Regions from separate parts of the Homo sapiens genome. Here regions 1, 2, 3 and 5 are each linked to region 4. Evidence: promoter capture Hi-C in human tissues and cell types (Jung and others, 2019). All regions are on one chromosome and are shown on one strand. The core of a region is centred on a gene start or on the middle of the fragment in contact, and the rest is flanking DNA. Distances in the headings are between cores, read along the strand shown.

Evidence for each region. Contacts are between HindIII fragments. The study calls those that stand out against the background at their distance.
Region 1: a fragment that was not itself captured here is called in contact with the fragment with the promoter of ZNF521 in region 4 in 1 of the 25 tissues and cell types used here (dorsolateral prefrontal cortex).
Region 2: a fragment that was not itself captured here is called in contact with the fragment with the promoter of ZNF521 in region 4 in 1 of the 25 tissues and cell types used here (hippocampus).
Region 3: a fragment that was not itself captured here is called in contact with the fragment with the promoter of ZNF521 in region 4 in 1 of the 25 tissues and cell types used here (dorsolateral prefrontal cortex).
Region 5: a fragment that was not itself captured here is called in contact with the fragment with the promoter of ZNF521 in region 4 in 1 of the 25 tissues and cell types used here (aorta).

What each region holds. Positions count from the first base shown.
Region 1 is chr18:24,282,828-24,285,945 of GRCh38, forward strand. All of the region lies in intron 14 of OSBPL1A (oxysterol binding protein like 1A), which reads right to left. Among named protein-coding and RNA genes, the nearest start is that of MIR320C2, 37 kb to the right of the region's middle. The HindIII fragment of the contact is 4,224 bases long and covers 1-3,118 here.
Region 2 is chr18:24,190,491-24,194,085 of GRCh38, forward strand. The region is part of intron 18 of OSBPL1A (oxysterol binding protein like 1A); the gene reads right to left. Among named protein-coding and RNA genes, the nearest start is that of CABYR, 53 kb to the left of the region's middle. The HindIII fragment of the contact is 4,946 bases long and covers 1-3,595 here.
Region 3 is chr18:24,254,888-24,258,402 of GRCh38, forward strand. The region is part of intron 15 of OSBPL1A (oxysterol binding protein like 1A); the gene reads right to left. Among named protein-coding and RNA genes, the nearest start is that of MIR320C2, 65 kb to the right of the region's middle. The HindIII fragment of the contact is 5,578 bases long and covers 1-3,515 here.
Region 4 is chr18:25,350,677-25,354,278 of GRCh38, forward strand. ZNF521 (zinc finger protein 521) reads right to left here and starts at 1,490. Exons shown (of 8, transcript NM_015461.3): 1 at 1,329-1,490; 2 at 231-271. The coding sequence starts at 270. RefSeq lists a silencer at 1,516-1,585. The HindIII fragment of the contact is 6,455 bases long and covers 1-2,488 here.
Region 5 is chr18:27,188,488-27,191,657 of GRCh38, forward strand. No RefSeq gene overlaps it. Among named protein-coding and RNA genes, the nearest start is that of CHST9, 4.8 kb to the left of the region's middle. The HindIII fragment of the contact is 3,160 bases long and covers 1-3,159 here.

The DNA.
Region 1 (3,118 bases), core at 384-2,883, 1.1 Mb before region 4:
GCGAGGCATGGTGGCTTATGTGTGTAATCCTCGCACTTTGAGAGGCCAAGGTAAAAGGATCACTTGAGGCCAGGAGTTCAAGACCAGCCTGAGCAAAAAAGCAAGACTTCATCTCTACAAAAAATTTAAAAATTAGCTGGGCATGGTGGTGTGCACCTGTAGTCTCAGCTACTTGGGAGGCTGAGGCAGGAGGACTGCTTGAGCCCAGGAGTTCAAGTTTTCTATACTACTGTTCAAGACCAGTATGGCCAACATGGTGAAACCCCATCTCTACTAAAAATACAAAAATTAGCTGGGCATGGTGGCTGGCGCCTGTAATCCCAGCTACTCGGGAGACTGAGGCAGGAGAATCACTTCAACCTGGGACGTGGAGGTTGCAGTAAGCGGAGATGGCACCACAGCACTCCAGCCTGGGAGACAGAGCAAGACTCCATCTCAAAAAAAAAAAAAAAAAATATATATATATATATATATATGTATATATATACACACACACACAGACACACACACACACACATATGGATATGAAGGCCAAATTATATTTTACCACAGTTTACATCTTACAAAATACATCTTACAGAATAGTTTTCTCTTGTTAGCTTCTTTAATAAAGCCCAACTAATTGAAAACTACCATATTCTAAAACAAATTTGACTTTACAGACTTTATTTTTCATTTTGAACCTCTGATACACATTGTGAAGATTTATTCTCTACTTAGTTGCTAAATAGCAAAAGAGACTACCATATGCTAGGTGCCATATGACTTAAATAGTGCCTGAACAGATGTCTCAACACGAACTGTGGACCGAGGACTGAGGAGATGTACCAGGAGAAACAGACACAGCCTATCCCTTCCATAAATTTTCTGAGTAATCTAGTAATTTTCCACTTTCAGGGCATAAATGGCAGGAAGATAGAAGCATAACCATTCATAGATATAGTTCTTTTATTAATACCATCATAAGCTTAATCATCCTGTTTTTGTCTGTTTTAGATATTTCATAAACTTTAGATACTTGTTACCATGAAGCAACATTAATGGTCCAAATACATGCTTAGGAATACTTACAAGTGTTTGAAAATACTGGTTCTGCAAGGTTTCAAAAAATATTCCAAATATATATATATGTGTGTGTATATATATATATAAAGAAGTTTTCATAAGAATCCACCATTGAGAGAGCGTCGAATTCTTTTGTCCAAAAGAGTCAAATGTTACTTCATTTCTTTGACAAGCTAATGTTAAAACAAGATTTTTGAAATGAACTTCCACAGCGGAACAGTTTAAGAATTGCCGAACCTTGCCGTATGCCACACTGCAGTGTAGCACATCAGGGTCCATTCAACTCACACTGGCATGCTTCTTATAGAATTATGTTTACATAATGTTACATAAAAAAAAAATTAAAATTGCTAAGCTTCTAGAAAAGTGACCAACTGGGAATCACTGCAAATACGTTTTAGCTGGTTAATATTTAGAGACTAAACTGTCATGAATAAACGCAAAAAGGCCAGTATGTTGCCTTATTTGGCCTGCTGTAAGAATCTGATGCTGTTGATTTTCAGGAAAAAAGTTATTTTTCGTACTAAAAACGTTTTTAAAGTCATGAAAGCTGTGAGAAGATCATATTGGAAAAGCTTAACTTTAGAGACATAAAAAGCTCACAATCTGTCATTTTTCATGATTACGCTGAACAATTTTTAATTGGGTAAGTTTTTAAAATAGTGGGAAAACACTTGTTTCTTTATGTGAACAAATTAATCCCTTGTACAGACAACCTCCACTGTTATCCTAGTGTAAAAAAAAAAAAGTCCACATTTCCTTAGCCTAACATTTAAGATGCTCAATAAACTAAATTTGTTTCAGCCAGATTGTTCTCCTGGAAATGTTTGTTTACCTAAAAACAGTCTTCAAAATATTGGTGAATATTGGATGTTGAATGCTGAATATTGACATGTTACTTGAATATTGGAAACAATAATTATCCATATTCAGAAGTTTCCCTACTTGACAAAAAAAACTATTTTCTTTCAAGGCCTAGTTCAAATGCCATCCTCCCCCAGGAAGCCTTCCTTAAATATCACTGTGGAGAATGGGTGCAGTGGCTCATGCCTGTAATGCCAACACTTTGGGAGGCCAAGGCAGGAGGATCACTTGAGTTCAAGGTTGCAATGAGCTATGACCACACCACTGCACTTCAGCCTGTGCGACAGAGAAAGACCCTGTCTCTAAAAACAACAACGACGACAAAATATCACCATGGGACATGACAGCAGCTGCTCCTGGACTCCAACAGCGGCCACACCCACTTGTTATAGGGGCATGAGGCATTGAATGTATGTTGTCTCTCTGTGACCCTCTGTAAACTCTAAACCTCCTTACCCCCATCCAAACACCAAGCTTTGCCAAAATAAAACCTCTCAAATATTTATTAAATGAATAAGGAAACTAATAAAATATCTTATTCCACATCTTGCTACCATAATTCTTTTAATATAAAATATAATCTGAATCCAAATGGCTTCACTTATTATATTTTACCTTAAAAGAATTATGGTCCTTTAGTTTAAAAATGTGAAATGAAAACTTTTTCATTTATATTACTATAGGTTGGTTGATTAGGGCAGATTGAGAAATAAGTAATTTTTAACTACATTTTGTTTTTTACTTGTGGCACAAGAAAATATATTTTGCCTGTTTTTCAACATTTAACTGAAATATTTCCATCATTTGGGACAAGTATTTAAAAGAAAAAAACTGGATGAAGGCATTTTATTTCCCCATCCTTACCCTTCTGGTAATGGTGCTACCTTGAATATGTATGTGGCTTTTTTTAATAATTAAACACAAACAGGAGAGAGACTAAATAGTCCAAAAACTACAAAATCTAGTGACAAAGCTAAAGATCAGAGAAAATACAGAAAATAACAAAATGGGATGATTTATCTTTTGTGGTGTAAAAAAATGCAATACATAATGACTATATACATGAAAGACCTGATCTAACCTAAATGATTGAAGTCCATTTTAAAATGGACTTTCAAGGCTGGGCGCGGTGGTTGATACCTGTAATCCCAGCACTTTGGGAGGCCGAGGCGTGCAGATCACCTGAGGT
Region 2 (3,595 bases), core at 323-2,822, 1.2 Mb before region 4:
TTTTACTCAAGAACCATTAACTTACATTAGGGCTCCTTGACGTCCTGTTTCAGTTAAGAGAAAGACACGACATGAGAAATAGGGTCTTCAAGCCATTTCTCCCCAGGTTGAAACATTCTGATCTTAGACCACTGTAGAGTGTGGGGGTAGAGATACCAAATTTTGTTTAACTATCTTGCTCCTTCTATCCTCTGTCGCTCTAGTTGGTATTTATAACATGCCAGATTTGGCAAAGCTCCAAACCTTATCTAGCTCCGCATCTATCTTAGAGTTGGAATGCAAGAATAGCACTGTTGTCATGGTGGCATATAGGGTATCACATGTTTATCTGATTCCAGAAATAATATCTCATCCCTTCTGACAGTTACTCTGACCCAGTGATATGTCTGGGCATGAGGTCTGGCCCTATGGCTATGTAGCAGACATTCTGTACTGGAATGAATGAGCTAAACCTTCAGTTTGTGGGAAACATCTTAAGATTCATGGTGAGATAAAAGCATTTTATCAAAAACATACTGGCAAAGGTTTACTTCAGTGAAAATTATTCCAATTTTCTCAACCCTTTCTCAGTATTGCAAGGTACAACTGAGTGATAAAAACAGTTCAATGAATTGAGATCGGAGAGCTTGGGAAAAGCTTCTCTGGTGTATTTCCCAGAGGCCAAGAAGCCAATGACTAATGAAAGGTAACAAAACCTTGTGCAAGTTAGAGTTTTTCAAAGTTGTGTTTTTAGTAACACTGAAGGGAGTCCTAATTGAGTTGTTAGCTTATAAATCACACACACAAAAATTCTGTAATATAATCTGACTTTTGGCATCTAGTGGAGAAGGGGGTCAAAGAACTGAATGACATTACTGGACATTTTTTTAAAAACCCAAAAAACTCCTACTCCCATCTGTCTATTAATATGAGCAAAGCTCTCAATCCTGGCATCTATTCAAAAACAAGAACATAACTGTTACTGAAGATCCTGTCTCATTCTAGCAGCAAGTGATATTCATCTCAGATATCTAAAACCAATTGAAAAAAATTTTCACTCATAACATTTTACCTTTGTTAATATTTTCATAAATTTTATAATGTTTACAATTGTAATCAAATACTAACATTTATAACAATGCAAAGAAACCTTTAGTACTAAAGTCTTATAGAATATAGCTTTTTAAATTTTAATTTTTATACATATTTCTGCAGTAATGAAGTATGATGAAGTAATCGATAAAAGACCCTCAGAGATTAAAACAATTGAGTTAACTCGGTAAATGGAGCTAATGGAAGAGAGATGATAGCTGAAGGTATGCACATGGCTTCTGGAACTCAGTTTCACCCCTACAAAAAGGACACGAAGTTAACTGAGTTATCCTATAGGAAGGATAAAATGGAAATACAAATTAAAGGAGACATAGAAGTATAAGCTTTTCAATGACTGAAGAATAGCTTGCTCATGTATTTATTTAACAGAATGACAGTGGCAATCAAAACTCGATGGTATGTGGATTCCACTAGCTACCTTTAAAAGAATGATACAACACTTTTCTTTCACTTTAAGTAGTCGGTATTCCTGATGTACCAGACCTTTGTCACCTCTTGCAATAATCCAGGACTATTCTATTACTCCAAGACATTTGAACACACACAAGGGCAGCACGCACATGGCCTTGAGCTCAAGTACCTCCTCAAATTTTGTGCTGAGGTCCTGGGGCTGGTTGCCTAAGTCACTGAGCATGAACACCAACGACCTAACCTCTGGCTGAGCCCTGCTGAGAAAGCCACTGGAGCAAAGGGATGGAGGAGAAGAGGAGGACGGAAACAGGGTACACACAGGACATGAGGCTTTCGGATTAAAGAGTCCTGTGACAAAGGGGAAACAAGCAGAAAGAAATAAGCAAAGGCTTCAAATGACTAAGCAGTGTCAGGATTAGTTCTCAGGAGCCGGAGATTTGTTTGTTTGGTAAAAGCTTCAACCACAAACAGATTTAGGGTTGAATTCCAGTTAGGTAAAGTATTCATTTCACATTGTATAATCTGACATTTTGATAACATAATCCTGCTCAAAACAGACTGGGAGAAGAAAAGAAGGATGTCATCAGTATTGGAAATCAAAGTGGCTAAATGCTATTTGGAAAAAGGTAAAGTACAACGTGCAGGTGCATGGGAGTGGAGGAGATGGGGCAGAGTGAGCCCGGCTGGGGATGGGGCTGCAGACACGGGGGGCCAAGATGACAAATGCATGGAGAAGAACCTCTTCCTTTCCTTCCTAAGACAGAGTGAGACCTAGACCATATCTGGCAGATAAGAATATGTACTGTGAATTTAGAAAAGCCACATATTTTGAATAATAATAGCATTACACCATAAAATGATATCATCATAGCATACAAATCTGGGGCATTAATTGTTACGGAAAAAATGGGATGAGGACTCTGGTTGAGTGTGGAATTGTGGGGCTGTCACCCGCAGGATGCTTACACCCCGCACTCTGTCCTGGCACGCTCCTCACAACAACAGAGAGCAGGAAGAGCTAAGGCTCAGTATCAAATTTCCTCTTCCACTCTTAGGACTTATTAACAAATTAAGAAGCTGGGTAAATGGAGGTAAGGGAAGAGAGATGATAGCTGAAGGTATACACATGGCTTCTAGAACTCAGTTTCACCCCCACAAAAAGGACACGAAGTGAAGTATTTGGATTAATGTGATAGAATCAGAAACATGCAGGCTGGGCGCGGTGGCTCATGCCTGTAATCCCAGCACTTTTGGAAGCCAGGGTGGGTGGATCAACTGAGGTCATGAGTTCGAGACCAGTCTGGCCAACATGGTGAAACCCCATCTCTGCTAAAAGTACAAAAAATTAGCTGGGCATGGTGGCATGCACCTGTAGTCCCAGCTACTCGGGAGGCTGAGGCAGGAGAATCACTTGAACCCGGGAGGTGGAGACTGCAGTGAGCCGAGACTGCACCACTGCATTCCAGCCTGGGCAACAAAGTGAGACTCCGACTCAAAAAAAAAAAAAAAAAGTGGTAATATTTGTATTTCTCTCTCAAGACTCCTCATTTTTAATCTTTACTGTCGCTTAGTGCTTATACCTTGATTGTGTCTGCTGCCTAAGAGAGAAGGTCCTACAGCAGACAGTGCCCAAAGAACAATATTTCCAAAAGCTAGGTGATCTCCTTTCAATCCACATTAATAAAAATGTTCTTTCAGAACATTTGTCTCCTATGAACCTCAGCAGAAAGAAGTTTCCAAAAACACGACTTCCCCTGAAGCTCTCTCTCTATGCTTTGAATCAGTAAGTTCTAGAGATATGATTCAGAACATTCTATGGAACCCTTTCAACCCAAACAGCTCTATGTTTATTTGTTGTATTTTATTTATGATTCAGCATAAGCATTTACTTGTACAAGAAGTTATGTGCCTAAACATAAAAGTAAAACCGCATTCTAGAGAAACAGAGTATCTTTCAGAACATAGCAGGTGCAATCCAACATAACATCATCTCCTATCTTTTAAAAGAATGGTTAGTCTCGATTTGGACGTAAACTAGACAGATTGCTAGTCACCTTCATGAACAAATTCATAACACCAACACTACAGCTGA
Region 3 (3,515 bases), core at 362-2,861, 1.1 Mb before region 4:
TAGAAAGATCAATGAAACAAAAAGATGGTTTTTTGAAAAGATAAACAAAATTGACAAACCTTTAGCCAGACTAACAAAGAAAAAACGGGGGAAAACCTAAATAAATAAAATCAGGGATGAAAATGGAAACATTACAACAGATACCACAGAAATCCAAAGGATCATTAGTGGCTACTATGAGAAACTATGTGGCAATAAATTGGAAAATCTAGAGGAAATGGATAAATTCTTAAGACACATAAACCTACACCAAGATTGAACCATGAAGAAACTGAAAACCTGAATAGATCAATAACAAGTATCTAGATAAAAGCCATAACAAAAAGTCTCCCAGTAAAGAAAAGCCTGGGACCTGAAGGCTTCACTGCTGAATTCTACCAAACATTTAAAGGAGAACTAATATCAATCGTACTCAAACTATTCTACAAAATAGAGAAGGGAATACTTCCAAACTTATTGCATTACAGCCGTGAAAGGAAAATAAATCTTGGGGCCCCCAAATTACTAAACTAAGGGGAAAAGTCAAGCTGGGAACTGCTTAGGGCCAGCCTGCCTCCCACTCTATTCAAAGTGTCCCCTCTCCTCACTAAGATAAATGCATAATTGATTGTCTCCTTTGGAGAGGCTAATCACAAACTCAAAAGAATGAAACCATTTGTCTCTTATCTACCTATGACCTGGAAGCCTCTTCCCTCCTTCCAGTCTTCCCACCTTTCCAGACCGAACCAATGTTCATCTTACATATGTTGATTGATGTCTCAAGTCTCCCTAAAATGTATAAAACCAAACTGTGCTCTGACCACCTTCAGACACATGTTGTCAGAACTTCCTGAGGCACATCCTCAAATTTGTCAAAATAAACTTTCTAATTTTTTTTTTTTTTTTTTGAGATGGAGTCTCGCTCTCTCGCCCAGGCTGGAGTGCAGTGGTGCGCTCTCTGCTCACTGCAGCTTCTGCCTCCCAAGTAGTTGGGAGTGATTCCCCAACTCCCCAAGTAGTTGGGTTCAAGTGATTCTCCTGCCTCAGCCCCCCAAGTAGTTGGGATTACAGGCGTGCGCCACCACACCTGGCTGATTTTTGTATTTTTAGTAGAGACGGGGTTTTGCCATGTTGGCCAGGCTGGTCTCGAACTCCTAGCCTCAAGTGACCCGCCCGCCTCAGCCTCCCAAAGTGCTGAGATTACAGGCGTGAGCTACCATGCCTGGTAAAACTTTCTAAATTAACTGAGACCTGTCTCAGATTTTTGAATCCACATGTTGATATCAAAACCAAAGACACATCACAAAAAGAAAACTACAGGCCAATATTCATTCTCTGATGAATACTGATGCATAAATCCTTGACAAAATACTAGCAAACTGAATTCAACAATATGTTAAAAAGATCATTCATCATAAACAAGTGGGATTTATCCCAGGGATGGTACAACATATGCAAATCAACCAGTGTCATACATCATATCAACAGAGCTGATGAAAAAAACCATATGACCATTTCAACTGATGCTGAAAATGTATTTGATAAAATTCAACATCCCTTTATGACAAAAACCCTCAAAAAACTGGTATAAAAGGAACACACCTCAACATAATAAAAGCCATGAAAGACCCACAGCTAGTATCATACTAAATGAGGAAAAACTGAAAGACTTTCCTTTAAGATATGGAACACAACAAACGTTCACTTTCACCACTATTATACAACATGGTACTGTTAGTCCTAGCTAGAGCAATCAGACAATAGAAAGAAATAAAGGTATCCAAATTGGAAAGGAAGAAGTCAAATTATCCTTGTTTGCAGATGATATGAACTTTTGTTTGGAAAAACCTAGAGACTACACCAAAAAACTATTAGAGCTGATAAATTCAGTAAAGTTGCAGGATACAAGATCAACATACAAAAATCAGTAGCATTTCTACATGCCAAAAGTGAATATCTGAAAAAGAAACTTAAAAAGTAATCCCATTTACAATAGCCACACATAAAATTAAATACCTAGGAATTAAGTTAACCAAAGAAGTGAAAGATCTCTATGGTGAAAACTATAAAACGCTGATGAAAGAACTGAAGAGGATGCAAAAAAAAAAAAAAAAAAAAAAAAAAAGGAAAGATATTCCATGTTCATGGACTGGGAAAATGAGTACTGTTAAAATGTCCATACTATTCAAAGCAATCAACAGATTCAATGCTATCCCTATCAAAATGCCAGTGACAATCTTCACAGAAATAGAAAAAAACAATTTTAGAATTTATGTGGAACCACAGGGGACCCAAAATAGCCAAAAGTATCCTGAGCAAAAAGAACTAAACTGGAGGAATCATATTACCTGACTTCAAATTACAGTACAGAGCTACAGTAACCAAAACAGCATGGTACTGGCATAAAAACAGACACATAGACCAATGGAACGGAATACAGAACCCAGAAACACATCCTCACACTCACAGTGAACTAATTTTCAGTAAAGGTACCAAGAACATATATTGGAGAAAAGACAGTCTCTTCAATAAGTTGTACTGGAAAAACTGGATATCCATATGCAAAAGAAAGAAACTAGACCCCTATCTCTTGCCATATACAAAAATCAAATCAAGATGGATTAAGGACTTAAATCTAAGACCTCAGACTATGAAACTACTACAAGGAAACACTAGGGAAACTCTCCAGGACATTGGTCTGGGCAAATATTTCTTAGTAATACCCCACAAGCACAGACAACCAAAGAAAAAATGGACAAATGGAAACACATCAAGTTAAAAAGCTTCTGCACAGCAAAGGATACAATCAACAAAATGAAGAGACAACCCACAAAATTATAAAAAATATTTGCAAACTACCCATCTGACAAGGGATGAATATACAGAATATATAAGGAGCTCAAACAACTCCACAGGAAAAAAATCCAATAATGCTATTAAAACATGAGTCAAAGATTTGAACAGATATTTCTCAAAAGACATACAAATGGAAAACAGGCATATGAAAAGGCGCTCAACATCACTGATTAGAGAAATGCAAATCAAACTACGATGAGGTATCATCTCATCCCAGTTAAAATGGCTTATCTCCAAAAGACAGGCAGTAACAAATGCTGGCAAGGATGTGGAGAAAGGGGAACACTGTTGGTGAGAATGTAAATTAGTGCAACCACTATGAAGAACAGTTTGGAGGTTTCTCAAAAAACTAAACATAAAGCTACCCCATACGACCCAGCAATCCCACTGCTAGGTATATTCCCAAAAAAAGGAAAAGCAGTATACGGAAGAGATATCTGCACTCCCATGTTTGCTGTGGCACTGTTCACAATAGCCAAGATTTGGAAGCAACCTACGTGTCCATCAACAGATGGATAAAGAAAATGTGGTACTTAACACACAATGGAATACCATTCAGCCATAAAAAAAAGAACAAGATCCTATCATTTGCAACAACATGGATGGAACTGGATGTTGTCATTATGTTAAATGAAATAAGCCAGGCACAGAAAGACAAACATTGCATGTTCTCACTTATT
Region 4 (3,602 bases), core at 240-2,739:
TTTCTACCGCCGCCCCATTCGGGGATCCTCCTCCCGTCTTCGTCTCCCCCCACCCCGACACCTCACCCTCACTCCACCTAGGGGCTCAGCGGGGAGGGGAGCGCGCGCGCCCCCGCACTCACACTCACACTCACGCGCGCACACGCCTCGCAGCCACGCAGCCCTCGCTCCGCTACCCACAGTGACACTCGCGGATGGGGGAAAGCGGGGAGCAGGGGGTTCCTCCTTACCTTTGAGGGATCTCGGTTTCGCTTGCTTGCGGCGAGACATCCTAAAAGCAAACAGCTGAAGTTGTTTCAATTCAGCCCTGAAAGAAACTATACTTCCTCGTGGCCGCGCGCCCCTCGGGCCGCGGCGCCTCGCGCCCTCCGCTCGGCCTCCCTCGCGCCCTCGCTCCGCGCTCCGCTCCTCGCTCCGGCTCCGGCTCGCGCTCGCGCGCGGGGCTCGCGGCTGCCCGAGCTCCGCGCTCTGCACGACGGCGGCGGCGGCGGCGGCGGCTGCTGCACCAAACTTTCCCAGCCTTCGACCCCCACCCCCAATCTCCAAGAAAAAAAAAAAAAAAGGAAAAAGAAAAAAGGAAAGGAGGGAAAAAAAGCTAAAAAAAAAACCCCAAAGACAATGTTTGAAGAGCCGTCAGCTACACTAAAAAGAGAAAATCCGTTACTATTTCCACCTCAATCAAAATTCACATAGTTCATGCGAATAGAAAAAAACTAATAAAAAGAAAAGCGTCTGGGTGATTTTTTTTTTCTTTACCGCTTTTCCTTTTCAACAAATCCGCCCCCCCCCCCACCGGAAAAAAACAAATAACACTGATTTGTTTACAAAGCGAGTCGTGCTCTTTTGTAGTTGGGGGGACGAGGGGGGGAAATCGACCCTGCAAGGCGATGAAAAGGTCTTGGAAAGAAAAATCTCCCACCATCCGAGGCAGATGCGAACGGGCCACGAAAATAAGCAAAGGGAAAAAAATACTTTTTTTCTCCCTTCCCCCCACCCTTTTTTTCTTAACCCACACTAAAGTAATTTCTTTCAAAAAGAAAAAGCCAAAGCACCCGAGCCGACGGCCCCCAGGTGGTGTGCGGGGCTGCTTGTGTGCAGGGGGTGTGCGGGGCCCGGGCTCGGGGCGCCCCTCTCTGGGCGGGGGCGCGGCGCCGGCGGCTGGCGCTGGACCGGGGCTCTAAAGTCTACGGCTGCCTCGGCAGCGGCGGCGGCAGCAGCGGCGGCAGCGGCGGCGGCAGCGGCGGCGAGAGCAGGAGGAGGAGGAGGAGGAGAGCCGGGAGCAGGAGGAGGAGAAGGAGTGTGCTGTGTGCTCCCTCCTCATCACAAACCTGCAAGGTCTTGGACTGCGCTGTCGCTCCGGTAGTCCACATAATAATGGAAAATGGAAGCAAGGCCCCCAAAGCCATCAGGATGGCTCCAGAGGGGGCCCCTAACCCGCAGGGACTCGCTCTGTACGTAATCACTGAGGAAATCATTGTCAGCCTGCCTGCACTCACACACAGACAGAGGGGCATGATTAAAAGGCGAGAGCGCGGGGAGCGGGAGGGAGGAGGGGGCCCGCCAAGACCCGGACTGGAGGCGCCGGCCGCGGCGCGCGGATCCGGAGCCAGGCGGCGGCCGAGCGCCCCGAGCCCCGCCCGCCGCCGCCGCCGCCGCCGCCGCCTCCCACGCGCCGCGCGCCCCGCCCGCTCCTGCGCCGCCGCCCCTCGCGCCGCCCGCCCGGCCGCTCGCACACCCCGCGCCGCCGCCGTCGCCGCCGCCGCAGCTGCGTTATTAGAGCTCCACGGCGGATCTCGGGGCTCTTCTGCTCGCTTTTTTTCCTCTTCAGAAATTAAAGCAGAGGAGCATCTGAAAGTGGAAAGGTCCCCCTTCTGGTAGGATGGATGTAAAAGGAGGCAACAATTTGTTCTTGAGGGGGCAAAAAAAAAAAAAAAAAAAAAGAAAAAGAAAAAGAAAAAGAAAGGAGGGGGGAAATTCATTGCTTGGCTTTTGCATTGTCGGACTTTAAAAAAGTGTGTCTGCTGTTGTTGCCCGGACTCGGGAAATCTTTTTTATGGCAACCGCAGACCTGCCAAGTCTCTCTTACTTGGAATCTTTATAAAGGCAAGTTATTTGGACTTTTTTTTTATTTTCTCGTTTAGAGAAAGTCATTGATGCTGACGAATGTCATAATGTGATTCAAAAGAGACAGCTTTGAGTTCACTTTTTTAACATTCTCAAATTGACATAGATCTTTGTCCAGAAAATAAAGCTTTCTGTTGATTTTTTCTTTAAGCAAGAGGTAAGGAAATATGCACTTAAGAATATGTGTACAAGAAAATAGTTTCTAAAATAAATTGAAATGTCTGCAGGTCGGTGGGAATTTTTGTTTCTTTTCGCAGTTTTGTTTTCTAACTTTTCACCTGCTCCCATCGCAAAACAAGAAACCATCACCTGTTTCCTTCTTTTACCTTATCTTAAGGGAAAGGATGTTTTAGTATTATTATTGTTGTTGCTATTTATTGATTGGACACGCTTGTCAAGTTATAAATGCCTGAGAGGGCTACCAAGTAGAGCTTAGATTCACAAGTCTTGGTGGAAATTAAGAGATTCAGAATACGGTTAATTACACAAAACAGGCAGAATTTTGTACAAATACTATTGTTCTTAATCAGATTTTAAAAATTCTCCGTTCTGTAAAATTAAGGTACAGCTATCTATTAAGCCACCATGCAAAGACATCAAAGCTTTAAGGAAGTTGTATTTTTTCCAGTCTAACCTGTAAACTGCCTGGACCCTCATGTGGATAGCTGCAAATACAGTATGTTTTTTTTCAATATCTTCATTATAATTAAATGAGTTTTCAATCCATCTGCAGTAATTCCTAAAGTGAAATCATAGTTGTAGTCAAATTTAACTTTGCATGACTGTGAAATAAAGCAACTTTTGTTGCAGAATCTGTGTTGGTACATTAAGGATTCTAGATTTTATACATAACCTTATACATTCATTTTCACAGAAATCATTCAGAAAGGGAAAAATGTGTAAACACCAAGTTTTTACAAGACTTTCCTTTCGTGTGGTAGCCATATGTGTGCAGAATACTATGGTGCCATGTATGTGTGGTCCCAAGTTATGTGTGATATTATCTAAAATATTGATGGCATCTAATCCTGGTTTTATTGGAAAGTGAAAAATTGCTAACGTAATACTAACGCGTACCCTAATTTGTTAAAGTTTTCTATATGGGTTGATTTTTTTTGTTTCTTTCTCAAAGTAGTCTACTTTGCTTTACTCTAAAATTGTTCTTTCATTTCCCAATGTTAGTATTTCTGTTGCCTTCCTCTATTAAGAGATAAATAAAACCCTTAGCTCAGAGATTTAGATCTGGCTCAAGAGCCTGATATTTCAGTTTGGGATAGTACTGCATAGCATTTTAAGGGAGGTTAAAGCACCAACCACCCAAAAGACAAACATAAAAACTATTTTAACCTAAATCTGTCAAATATTGACCTATACAGATAGGTAAAATGCTTTTGAAACGTATCTTTAAATACTTTAATTTCCTCCCCCCAAGTTACCAAGGGGGGGAAGATCATTGATTATGTTTCTAAACATAAACC
Region 5 (3,170 bases), core at 330-2,829, 1.8 Mb after region 4:
TATGCCGGTGTTAATGATGACTTGGCTTAATTAATGGCCAAAGTCAAAATTCAGCAGAAATGCATTTAGCACAATATGCCAGGTCATGTGGGTGTTGCAAATACCTCTGAACCTTCTTATTTATGCCTCCAACTATTTTTTGAGGGAAAGCAGGGTTTTATTTATCTGGGAAGAGATATTTTTACACAAGTCAATAGAGGATAGTCCAGTAGCTACAGTAGTTTCCCTTTATCTTATCTTGCTTTTATTTTGCAGCATACGAGTAAAACTAGAAAAAAATGATAGAATGCGATTTATGTTGATTCCTGGTCAAGTGAACACAAGCCGGCCCACTGAACCAGAAGAAAAGAGTAATAGAACTCTTGAAAGAGAAGATAAAACCCACCGTATCCAGATATTGCTGGGAAGAAAAATAAAAACAACTATTAAAAATTTAAAATCACTTTTAGAAAGCTTCCTTGCATTAGTGCTATGAAATAGAAAGAGTCTTGGAGAACAGGATTTGTTCACGTTAAGTTGGGCAAGTCTTCTCTTCCTGGGCTCAGTTTCCTCATCTGCAGTGCATGAGGTCATTGAACTCCATAAGCCCTAAGGATCCTTCTGGTTTCAAAAATCCCATAACGTCTGATATAGAACACTTACCTTGACAAAGCTCTTCAAGTCATTTTCACCTTCACATATTGATTTATCTGTGTAGTGACATTTAAAGTGAATTCTAATCAGGAAATAAAAGGCTGATTTCTTCAGTAGAAGAAATTGACAATAAAAAAATGTGAATACAAGAGAGAAACAAAGGCCTGATTACCAGAAGTCGATCTATAGGATACAGAATGTGGCATTGTACAAAGTAGAAATTCCTTTCTAAAATTTAAGAAGAAATCATTGTAACATCAGGAATAAACAGGAAAAAGGAGAAAGCATTAAGATTTTCCAGTCAAGGAGAGATCTGGAAACATAATGATTTACCTCCTGCCATAGCAAGCATGGTATAGCAAATTTTATGATTTGGGGTTGATCAAAATTATTGTGTGACGAAGACATAATTAAAAAAAGATTTGACTCTGTCTCTAACCTTTTTTAAGGAAGGAATTATTTTCTTAAAAATCAAGAACAAATCAAGGACCAAATATCTATAACTAAAGCACAAATTAAGTGTTCAGAAGAATATTGGGGAGAAAAAGCAGAATGCAAAAGGAAAAATGCCTTATGGAAAGAGCATAGGATTAATAGTAAATGAGGAAGAACTATGACTCCTAAAGAATTATAAATTTTAAATTGTATGAAAAATAATATTGGTAAAACAGAAAAACTAAGAGATAATTGTAAGTAAATAAAAATGAAACAAGATGTGTTGCCATTATTATTATATATCAGCTGCCCCAGTAAAGCAATAATTCAAGGTCAAATAACTTAGAATGGTCAGCACCTAATAGTCTTGGTAAATAGAGCAGGTCAATAAATATATATTGATTGGTTGATTGAATAAGAAATGCTTGCAGTTATTTTAGGAAAATCAAAGTTGCTTGGGAAGTTATGCATGTAATTTCTTAAACTAAGCAAGTATAAATTTCCTTTTGAAACAATATAAAACAAAACCTTTCCTAACAGTTACCTCTAAATCCTAAACAATGAAATCTTTTATAAGATAATGTTTATATATAGCAAAACCTAAATTGGAAATAGATAAAATGTGGAAATATAAATGTGCTTCTGTAGAAAGAAATTATATTTTATATCTTTGATGGTTTTTGATAGGTGGTTGGAATAGGGAAAATTCTGTGTGAACAATTTACCAAAAAAATGCTATACTTTCCTCTAAACCAATATTTGGACATATAAATATTTTCCAACTGGGTTCAGTTTTTGATATGGCCAAAGATAATGATATGTTATTTCAAGACTGTAAGTCAAAATAAAATTGATTTGAAATGGTCTGAATTAATGAGATGCCTTCCATCCTGTAAGTTTCAACATTGTCATCTCAAGTGATAAGATAATGATGGACCGTTTCTTACCAAATATTTTATTAATTAACTCACGAAGCTTGGCCTGTTCAGTCAGTATAGACACTATGTTCCGGTGCCTTGGATGTGATTAGCAAGATGTGATTCCTTTAAATAATGAGCTCAAAACACATATTAAATTTAGAAGTGGTAAGCTTACAGGAAAAAGAAAGATCTGCTGGGAGTGAATAAAAGGAAAAAGAAAAAATGGCTTTGTGATTTCTATCAATGGTGTGCATGTGCGTGTGTGTGTGTGTGTGTGTGTGTGTGTGTGTACGTGTACTTGAAAGAGAGAGAGAATGCAGGCAACAGGCAAGCTGGTAAGAAATTTGATGAAATAGAGAATATGTCAATGATGTATCCTAAGAAAAAATATAGAATTTGAGGGCACAGAGTAATTCTAAATCCACCTCCAATCCCATGCAATGAAATATTTCCTCGTCCAGCACTGGGAGTACTTGTGATATACGGCTCACCTCACTAAATCTAATATCATTTCAGCCCAGAGGGACACAGAGCATGGTGACTGACTTAGCCTTTTTGAGGGAAGGGATTTTGTTGACTGTTCAAAATGTGTTGTCCTTAATGGGAGGATTTTTTTTCAAATAAAGGTAAATAATGATTTTTGAAGACTAATACCTGTGATGAAAAATTAGTGTAAAAGAAAATTTATACTCAGTAGCATCATAAAATAAGTATAATATTAGCAGTGTGCTACAAATATTATTTCTAATGTTAATACTTAAAGTGAGCTGATAATGAAACCAATTCAGCTTAGTATTATTAAGCTTATGCTTTTATTTAGCTAGTTATTTACATCTGAATCTATGTCTACATATAGCTATTCTAAATAACATTTGGATATTTGGTCTATTTAAAAGTCTTTTTCCCCTCTTGTAATAAAAATGTTTTTAAATTATCTCCTAATATTTAGAAAAGAAGGAAAGTATCTATTAGATATTTATATCTTGTACTTGTGAGGGGTAAAACAGTGGAACTTAGAACTTGAAAGACTGCCTTGTTTTAGAGGGAAAACAAAGATGCTATTTCTGGCTAATAATTGTGAATGTAACCTGAACCTTAATTACTAAGGTAAAAATAAACAAGTTCAAGATACAATCTCTTGCTAAAGTCTATTCTTCAATACATTTCTTAATACACATGGTA